2 separate regions of the Homo sapiens genome follow, and region 1 is linked to region 2. The links are contacts of gene promoters, found by promoter capture Hi-C in human tissues and cell types (Jung and others, 2019). All regions are on one chromosome and are shown on one strand. Each heading gives the region's core, a stretch centred on a gene start or on the middle of the fragment in contact. The rest is flanking DNA. Distances are from core to core; before and after follow the strand shown.

Region 1 (5,128 bases), core at 545-3,044, 260 kb after region 2:
TTGGAAAGTTTTTTTAAAAGTGACATTCAACATAAATGACGTCATTCACCTGACCTCACCCAAGTCAGCAGGGATCTCTGATAAGGCCCCTCTTGGTCCAAATCCTCCCAGGTTTGGTTGAAGATTCAGACAGTATTTGAGCCACACACATTTTTAACTTGATGGGATTGGTATTAAAGCTCTACTGTGAGACAGGAATTTCATTTGTTATTCTCTAGAGAGCCTGCTAATTGCACATTTGTGGTTTTCATTTTTCTTTGAGGATCAGATTTTGTTTGAAATGACTCATTAGAGTTTTTACAACCTTTTCCCTCATTCAAAATTTTGGTTATGGAGAAAAAAGTTTATCTCTGAAAAGAGGATGTGAATCTTTGTGATGTAAGCAAAAGAAAAAATAATCTTTAAAGCTGGTATGTGGCCTCATGCTCCTCTCTAGTGTTTGTGACCTACATGGTGGATATCTCCTCTCCAAGGACAAGATTGGATAGAGTATTATAAATATATTAGTTTTTCTACAATAGTCATCAGTGCTTAGCACTTGTAGGACTAAAGATGATGTACATCACTGACCTATTCATAATACTTCACAAAGCAAAAGGCATGAGGTGAGCTTTTTGGTAAAAGAAACCAGTTTGTTAGCCTTTTCACTGGTGTTAACACAACCGAGAGTTAGGACAACTGAATTCTGTGATAGTATAACAAATTTGGGATGGTTTAATATGGCTTTTCCCCTCTTTTGGTCACTTAGCTCACCCCTTTATGTTGGGAACAAAAAATATCACACCAACGATACATGGCCCAGTAACACTAGTGATGTGGGATAGATACTCAAAGAACAGTGTATCCACAACATTATATGACAAAGTACTGGTTGGCGTGCCACTGAATGGGTACCATGACTATCTATTAGTTATCTCTAAACGAAACATCTTGGCTGTGCACGATCAATCTACAGGCTTAGCTACCCCCAAGATGGTTAGGATGGTGTCTTTGAGGCTATTCCTGGATACCAGGCTAAGTTCGTACCCTTTCAAAACCTGCAAATCTTCCTCATTTACAATCTTGTTGGAATTTTTCTGTATTCTATTGACGTGATCATTTAGCTTCTGTCTTTCTCCTGCAACTGGTTACTGAGGATTTCATTTGGTGTGTAGAGGCCGTAACCAATTATATAAAAAAGGCCCTAAATAATAGTCTTATGGGTATCTCGTTACGAAACAATGAAGAAAGGCTCTAATACAGAACAGTGTGGCTTTAGACATACTCACTGCAGCCCAAGAGGGAACATGCACAATGATAAAAACTGAGTGTTGTGCCTGTATCCCAGATGAATCAGATAACATCACTAAAGTAATGGCTGATATAAAAACCCGAATAACTAAACTTTTAGATACAACAGTCTCTCCAAGTGATTGGGTAAGTAGCTGGTTTTGATACTGAGAAAACTGGTGGAAAAAGCTTTTACTTATTCTAGGAATTATAATCATTTGTTGTGTTTTGTCCTCTTTTTGTCTTCACTGCTGCTGTGGCATTTGTTCACAATGGAGTCAATATACAACTAAAGAAACTAAAATAATGGTTACTCAAATAAATTGCATTAATTAAAGATGTAGTCTGGTAGCCTGTCTCAGGTTACAAAGTCACTTTCCTCATGCTGCTTTAAATTTGTCCTATGCCCTATCAACTTTATAGCTTGATAAATTCCTCCTGCCATAAGACACGACACTCCGTGAATGAGCCTTTCTAGCAATGTAGGACTAAGTTCTTGAACATAAAAAGAGCCTGTAAAGGCCAAAAGAAATCTTTTCTTTTTTCTCTCTGAAGGTTCACTGAAAAACTCAACTCACAAAAGGCAGATTAATTAGAGAAAAGGCATACAAATTTATTATTAATGCGCACATTGGCAAGAATTAGAGTGATTACCCGTTCTTCAAGGAATACAGAAACTTACATATCATGATTGAAGTGACAGAAAGGGCTCAGAGCATGGCCCAAAACAGATTATGGTGGTAAATCAGATTACAGTGGCAAGACAGGTTATGGGAGGGAGAGAAGAGGAAGCTTGGCTAGCAAAGATGGTCTTGTTATGTAAATGAAATCTCACTGGTAACAGATCTCAAAAAGAATACGTGGCAAATGTTTCTTTCAGATCTTTAAGTGTGTCAGGCTCTCAGTTAATCTTTTCTAGATCAGACAAGGGAAGGCCTTCAAAGAAGTCCTCACTGCATCAATGCAGATTTTGTCTACAAACGAAAATCTTGCCCACAAAAGACAGCATTACAGGACTACTGTCTGCAGGCCCTCTGGTCAGCCATCTCAAAATATTTCAAAGAAATATATTTTGGGGTAAAATATTTTTATTTCCTTCAAGCCAAAACTGTTTGAGTTTATCCATGATGCTGTCTTTGAAAGATCTCAATTGAAAGAGGGAAATGTGAAATTAAATAATGCAAACTTAAAGTAAATTAAACCTAAAGCTGCTGGAACATTAAATATCCTGAGCCTCGTGGCATGCAACTGCAAACTTCTACACTTTTTTCTCCTGTTTCTAGAAATAACTAATACCTAAGATGCCAGAGATAAGACCCCCTCAGATCACTACCTCTCCTCATGAAATAATAAAGCAATATTCCTTGGAATGTATCAATCTATAGTCATTCAGATTGCTGTGGTGTGTATACCTGGTATAGTATAAAAATGTTTAATACTGCTGGAACTTCTCTGTTTCTGCCTATATGATTGAAACTTTAACCTCTTCACTTTGGAAAAACTGACCTATTCATTTGGAGTCAGTGCTTCTCCTAAAGCTTCATGCTTGAATAAGCTCTATACTTAATTGTATTTTATTAATTTTATTAAGATTGACATCCTTGCACCTTGAATTGTGTAGAATAGCCGATACTTGTTATAGTTAAAATAAGTGTGATTAATGTAAAAAGTTAAATAGAATAAGGAAACTCCCAGGTACCTTGTACCCAGTTAGGTGTATCACTTTGGCTAAATAAATGACTATTATTTTATAGTGATCTGTGATTCTATTTTGAGCATGTGTTTTAAATCTTTTATATTTGACCAAATTTCCAAAATCGAAATTCCAAATTCCTATTTTGTTTTTGCATTTTACTCAAAAGGTAAACAAAAATCTTTACTATCTCTTGTTAATACAACACAAAAATGTAGTTCAAAGGAGAAAAACCAAATTTTACCTTTACATTAGTATATTGTTAATACTAAAGCTAATTTGAATAAAGCCTTTTAAACAAATCTATCCCATCCCAATCAGTTTTGACCAGAAGGTAAGATTTCCATAAACCTTTTATAATGTTTTACAATTCTTCCCATTCTCTTTCTTTACCAACTTTCTATATCCATTTAGTTCTATCTAGCATTTACAAATATTTTCCATTTAAATCAACTTTTATAAACTTCTAAACTGGGCAAAAATTACTTTTCCTTGAACAAAAACCGTATTCCCTTGCCTTCTTATAACCCCATCACCAAAAACACATTCTACTTTCCTTGTACACCTTGCATATAGAATTTTTTGACATCTAGTAGTTTTAATCACATACATTAATCACAATGCTAAATCTTAGTAACTAATTTTTAGTGAAAAACCTAGGAAGTAAGCAATTTTAAGTATGTACCAGATGTAGAGCTCAGGACAAAGGACAGAGCTGTGAAGACAATGCCTGGAGGATCTAATTCCTCTCAGCATGCCAAGAGACACAGCTAGACTAGGGAGGATGGGGCCCAGATATCCCCAGGTCTCACCATGGCCACTTATCTAGACCTCAAAATCTAAAGGCTCAAATCCAAAGACATTAGCTCACAGAGAAATTAAGCAAGTATCAAAAATAATAGAGAAGCAATGTTTATGACCTTAAAACATCTGTCAGAGACAGTTTAACCCCATCTGACCTATAGACCCAGGCAAAAATGTCTCAATTAACTTCTGAAGATGTTTCTATTTTATTTTATCAATAATTTTATAATGAGGTTTATCAAAGATAAATAAAGGCATATGTATGTGAAAAGCACTGGGGCTAGTTAATTTATTATGAGTACTCATTTAATCTTTAAGTTAATTTGGTACCATTTGTAGACTATATATAAATATATGTGTAGACATATACATATATGCAGACACAACACATAATGTACACATATATGCAGACACAACATATAATGTACACCATATATACATGTACACATAAAATACAGACAGACAAAAAACCTCATAGTTTTGATTTTAGAATTTTAGATATGAGACTGGTAAGACTCATTAGTTTAAAAGGACAGTTGGATTCAAACTCTGCCTTTGTAAATGGAACAAGTTAAAGGTTATTTGTCTCACATGGCCCGAGCTCTTACTGAGTTTTAGAGAAAGCAGGGTAGCAATTTACATCTCAAAACACAGAAGAAGAGAATTCAAGCATTTTCAAGAGGAGTTTGGGTGCGTTAGAGGAAGATTAAAAGTGGATGCCATGGTAAAACAAAATTATAGAAATTTACCATGGGATTTTATAAGGAGACCAATTTCATTTAAATAAGTAGCTTTTAATTTAGTTTCTGTTTTCCAATTAGGCCACTGAGCTCAGGGAAGAGCCTATTAAGGAACAAGGCCAACAAAGTACTTGGAGGTTTTAGGGCCCAATAATTTAAATATGTAAAAAGCAGGTGCAGTTGGAAGGCAGAGCATTTAGACCTTTAAAATAAAAGATTTCACTGATTCCCAGGTCCCCCAAAAGAGGGAAATGCCAGGGGACCAGGCCACTCAATGCTTTCAGAGTGTACTTTGTTTTGTAGGTATTTCCCTAAGTGTTTAAATCATGTCCTTTCTTATCTAAGCACACAAATGAGTAGCCTCTAGTAATATTAACCATTTATTGCAAACAACTGCTGTCAGCCACCTCTAACCCTGTAGTTCTCAGTCAGCCATTATACCTAAGGTCAAATTCTCTCACAATACAAAGTAATGTTTGGTATCCCTCAAAGCCAAAGAGATCAGGTAATGTGATACAAAAGAGGGTAGAGTTTTAGACCTAAAAGGAATCTGTGCATTTACAAGTTTTGTGGTTCCACGAGAAAAAACAGAAATTTTTCCCCAAAAAAGAGGAGCTTATGG
Region 2 (4,821 bases), core at 1,914-4,413:
TCCCCAGGGCTGGACCAGGTACTTGGTACCAGCTCATGGTGCCTCAGCTAATTCCATACCCCACCCACTGGAATCTAGAACCGACTTTGGTCTCATTGGCTTAGAAATGGAATAGGGACAAGCTGAACATGCTTGCAGAAAGGGACCTGGGTGAGTATAGAGACCAGGCAGGGTAGGGGCTGATGGGTGGAAACTTGGTTAATGAGAGCCCCCACCCACCTCTGTCACAGGGAATACATGCTTTCTGTTGCTTATTTGACAAAATGTTGGTAATTGGAAGAAAAAACACATCACAATTTGTTTATGCAGTCAATGTTTATTGAGTATGACTAACATAGTGGTAGGTCCTGGGAGAAAATATGAAACAAATATAAGGCATTCATTTTACTCAAGGAGCTTGAGGACTGTAACACATTCAGCCAACACATATGGAAATAGCAGTTTAAGACAGAACTGCATTAAGTGGCAAGAAGAGAGGTACAGTCCGTGACACTAATGAAGCTCAGGGAGGGATGAGTCAGGGAGGGATGAGTCAAGGAGGGCTTCATGGAGGAAGCAACCCAAGCTGAGCTTTATAGACTGGGTAAAATTGAGATAAACAGATGAAGATGGAAGGCAGGACCGGAAGGAAAGATACACCATGGATTGTGAGAATTAAATGAGATACTTCACAGAAGTCACTTGCTAAGTGAGTCTTGCTATGACTCTTGGCACCAAGAATGCCCAAAGTAAATGAGACGTATGGTTGTTGCTGTTATTTCTGTGACTTTTACTGCTGCTGCTATTTTTATTTTCATGCTATTTTTTTTACTGCTTTTGATGAAGGCAATGGGGATTAAAGGGGATACATCTGGGAGACAGTAAAGGGAGCATGGTTTCGAATTTCTTCTCTAGAAGTATGTCAGATAAAATGAATTGCAGTGAACAAGGGCTTGCATTGGAACTATTTCTGTATCAACAATGCATTAGAATTGCTTGTGCCCAAAGGGGATCATAGAAAAAAAGTTACACTAAGAAATATAAGCTAAGTTCTCACAAATACCACCAGTAATCACTGTGTAACTAAAAATCACAGGGTTTTAGTCAATACACGTATCTCTCAAATAATGAATCTGAGCATTCTAAGCTCCTGGCCAAACACAATTCCTGTCTTTCTGCTTTTCTCCTTGTCCAGTGGTCCAGCCGTTTTGCTGCAAACATATCAATAGGAATCAGCTAGAGATGCTGTGATTCTCTTTAGTGTCTGGCGATGATGTTGCTAGGATAGAGAGGACAAACACTCATAGAGAGCAAGGTGGGATTTGTTTCTTCACATATTCCAAATATCCCTGTAGGTGCTATATTCAAAAAATGGCAAATGAGATTTCAGCTGAGATTGATTCTTGCCAGAGTCTCAGAATAACCACCTTATTGCTGATTTTATTCCCTTTGCAATGGAGGGCCTCTCTTCATTCTGCTTGCTATCATGTTCTAAGAATATCAAAGAGGCTACACAGGCAGCAATACTGAGTGGAGTCCTGTGCTTCCTGGGTGCACACAGCCTGCCAAGACAGACTCTCTGGGTCTGCAGGCTGATTTCATAAAGGGGATTATTCAGTCGACATTAAGTGGCAACAAACTCTAATTTTACTTTCTAAGCTACATCGTGGAGCTGTGCAGCTGGGCTGCGTATGTGCATATGCATTAGGAGGTGATTCCAAGGGACAGGGTTTCACTGAAGCCAGTGGAGGAGTAGTTTGCTCAGGTTCTGCTTTGCTGCAGGATCATTAGGGCCCTGGAAGTTTAAGTCTGACTCCTGGGACAGCACCCTGCTGAAAGTTTTATTCTGAATATTTGCAAAAGAAGTGAACTTCCAGTAGGGAGGTGGATGTTACAGTAATGCTATCTCATTGTGTAAAAACCAAATCATTTCAAGAACATACAGAGGATTAACAACAACAACAACAACAAAACCCAACAAAGCAACAACTAGAATCTTTTTGAAGTATTTTTTCTTCAGTGGAAAGGACCAGTTTGAGACCTGTGAATTATTGCAATGACTAAACATATCGTTAGACAGGTGTGAAATAACCTGACAACCCAGCATTCTGAGGCAAGAAGCAGGAAACTGTTCTTTTCCCAAATGTGCGGTTCATTTCTGTCCACAAGATCTTGTTGCGGAATAAGAAACAATACAGTATTAGCTTAATGAAGATCCTTCCTCAGTGTGGCCCTTGGATACTTTGAAGGTGAAACTCACCAAACTCTCTGTCCTTCATTTGTTCTAGGAGGTAATTTGTTGCAAATGGTGGCATCATCAACTACCCTCAAAGAAATATATTCCTCACTGATGTTTAATGAAAAGGATCATCAAAGAAAGTGTCGTCCTTCCTGCCTTATTCAATGTTGTTTCTCATCATATCAGTCACTGTCCTGGGGATTGTGAGCTTTCCGCATCTCTGGTGTTCCTAGCAAAAAACTCATAGCTCTAACCCCTACTAGAAACAGACATTTCAAGTACTGCTATAGGATTAATTAAAAGTGCTTTCACCTAAGGAAAGGGGGAAAGTAAAAATCATCCACTCATAAATGTTACTCACGATTCACACATTTCCAGCAGCATCAGAAAGAAAAACGTCACCTGTATTCCTAAGAAACTACAATCTAGGTCTCTGCACACTACAGCTTGTTGTTTTAGCACTTCAGACTTTTAAAAATCCTTTTTAGTAAAGAAAATAACACTCATTCACAATACTGGCTATGATACTTCAATTGACACTCTTAAGTTCCAGCAGTCTCATTGTTATAAGTCAGTGTTCAGAGTCGCAGGCAAGAAACTTACCTTAAAGGAGTAGTAGAAGGAACCCCATTCCTTTCCTTCCACCACTTCAGTAAAAGTCACTGTTTCAGTGCAAGCCACTGGGGAAGAATCCAGCGTCTGCCCGGTCCCACTGGAATCGAAGCTGCCCTCTGTGAAGTTGGCTGGCATGGCTCAGGCGGGGTTGAGCCTCACTGTCCTTGCTCCTGCAGCTGAGTGAGGGAGTCCAGCTTGCCTCCTGAGAGCTGGGCAGCAGCTGCAGCTCTGCTGAACGGAGGCACAGAGCCCTCCCTGAGCCCACCTCACTGAAGAGCTCTGCCTGATGACAGGGAGGATCTACGTGCTGCTCTCTCCTTGGCAATTACCACCAGGTAGCCAGCATAGCACAACCCTCATCACCCCACAGTCCCACCCAGGGCCAGGGCCCCACCCCAAGAGCAAGGTGGAGCTCCCCATAGCCATCGACATGGCTCCCTGGATGAGACCCCTGTTCTGTTTTGCTTTTCCTTACTTCCACGGTGGACCCCCACTTCTGCTCCAGCTTCAACAATAAAGGAATTTGGACTAATCAGTAGGTGCATGAATTCGGGTCATGTTTCCACTTCTGAAATCAAATTATAATTATGCATTTGTTTCAGCTGAGGTTGCTTTCTGACTTAAAGCCTCACCTTGCCATCTACTGTGTCATGTGCTCTTATTTCCGTAAGTGTAGGCAAATAGTACGTTTGTATTTCACACCCTTAGTTCTATCTAGGTGTTCACAGGGCGGTTCTCAGAGAAACATGAGGTCTGTGTTTGTCAATAAGCTACAACACCTTGTGATATGACTGGGAGGGGCCTGGTGAAGATTCTTACTGCTTTCAGTATATTCACCTCAGCTTCTACCTAGGACCAATACTCAGGGCGAGGGTAGAAAGGAGGTAATGCAGCATCCTGGGCACCACAGACAGGGCTAGGCGAGAATACTAACAGCTATTCCTGTTTCACAAAAAACCTGCAAAGCACATTTACACGTTCTTTCATTCAGTTTCCCAAACAACCTTGTGAGATAGGCAGGGAAGGTATCTTTATGTTCTCCTTTATGCTAGCAGAGAGTGGCTCCAATAGGTGAAATGACTTGCCCAAGATCCCGCAGCTGCTGATGTAAATGAGCTGATAACCCATCTCCAGAACTTCCTAGACAGTGGTGCTTTTACTGTAACAGACTGGTTTGCATCAAATCTCAAATGTCTATGGGGCATGAAGGTAACATGAATGAGGGTAGCAGGCCAGGTATAAAACAATGGGAACTAAGCTGCTTATATGACAACCAAGCACAATACCTGATTCCTCACATTGAGAACACTCTGTGAACCAACCAGGTCCAGCCACTGGTTTATGGCACCTGGAATAAGAGGTAGTAGCTTTAGTGGCCACCACTAAAGAACCTGGCCCCCATGAGATCTCCTGGGGAAGCTTTATTATAAACCATCGAGCCCCAAGGAGGGCACAGTGCTCTAGCAATGAGAAGGCATTGAGTCTATAATGAAGGGCAGCAAACAGAAGTGAGTTGTGTAGAAAACTGGATAAGCTGTGGACTCTTAAGGAAAGGTTCAAAACAGGACAACAACTCAATAGCAAAACAAGTGCAGCATATTCCAACTAACAAATGAGTATGAAGATAGGCTCAACCATATTAAAAATTAAGGAAAATAACTAAAACCAGTAAGAATGTTTACCTATTATTATAGTGAAAGCTAGCGTGTGGCTATCCCCAAGTGCTGACAAGATTGAAGGGAAACGGGTGTACATCTTTACTTCTGGTGAGAGTTAGTTGATGTGGTAATTTTTGAAAAGCAATTCAGCAGTATTTAGTAAAGCTGGAATTACATATCCTCTAATGCATTGTTCCATTTCTAGATGCTAATAATTTTTCATCTCTATCTGGGTTACTTACATATGCTCAATTCACATAAATTCTTTGCACTACATACTTAAAACATATGCACTTTTCTGTAGGTATGTTTTACTTCAAGAAAATGTTT

Evidence for each region. Contacts are between HindIII fragments. The study calls those that stand out against the background at their distance.
Region 1: a fragment that was not itself captured here is called in contact with the fragment with the promoter of NPSR1 in region 2 in 3 of the 25 tissues and cell types used here (H1 embryonic stem cells, bladder and neural progenitor cells).

The regions. Positions count from the first base shown.
Region 1 is chr7:34,391,790-34,396,917 of GRCh38, reverse strand. The region is part of intron 3 of NPSR1-AS1 (NPSR1 antisense RNA 1); the gene reads left to right. Among named protein-coding and RNA genes, the nearest start is that of NPSR1, 260 kb to the left of the region's middle. The HindIII fragment of the contact is 5,164 bases long and covers 1-4,376 here.
Region 2 is chr7:34,656,560-34,661,380 of GRCh38, reverse strand. NPSR1 (neuropeptide S receptor 1) reads right to left here and starts at 3,163. Exons shown (of 9, transcript NM_207172.2): 1 at 2,822-3,163. The coding sequence starts at 2,968. The region is part of intron 2 of NPSR1-AS1 (NPSR1 antisense RNA 1); the gene reads left to right. RefSeq lists an enhancer at 287-1,124. The HindIII fragment of the contact is 11,658 bases long and covers 1-4,821 here.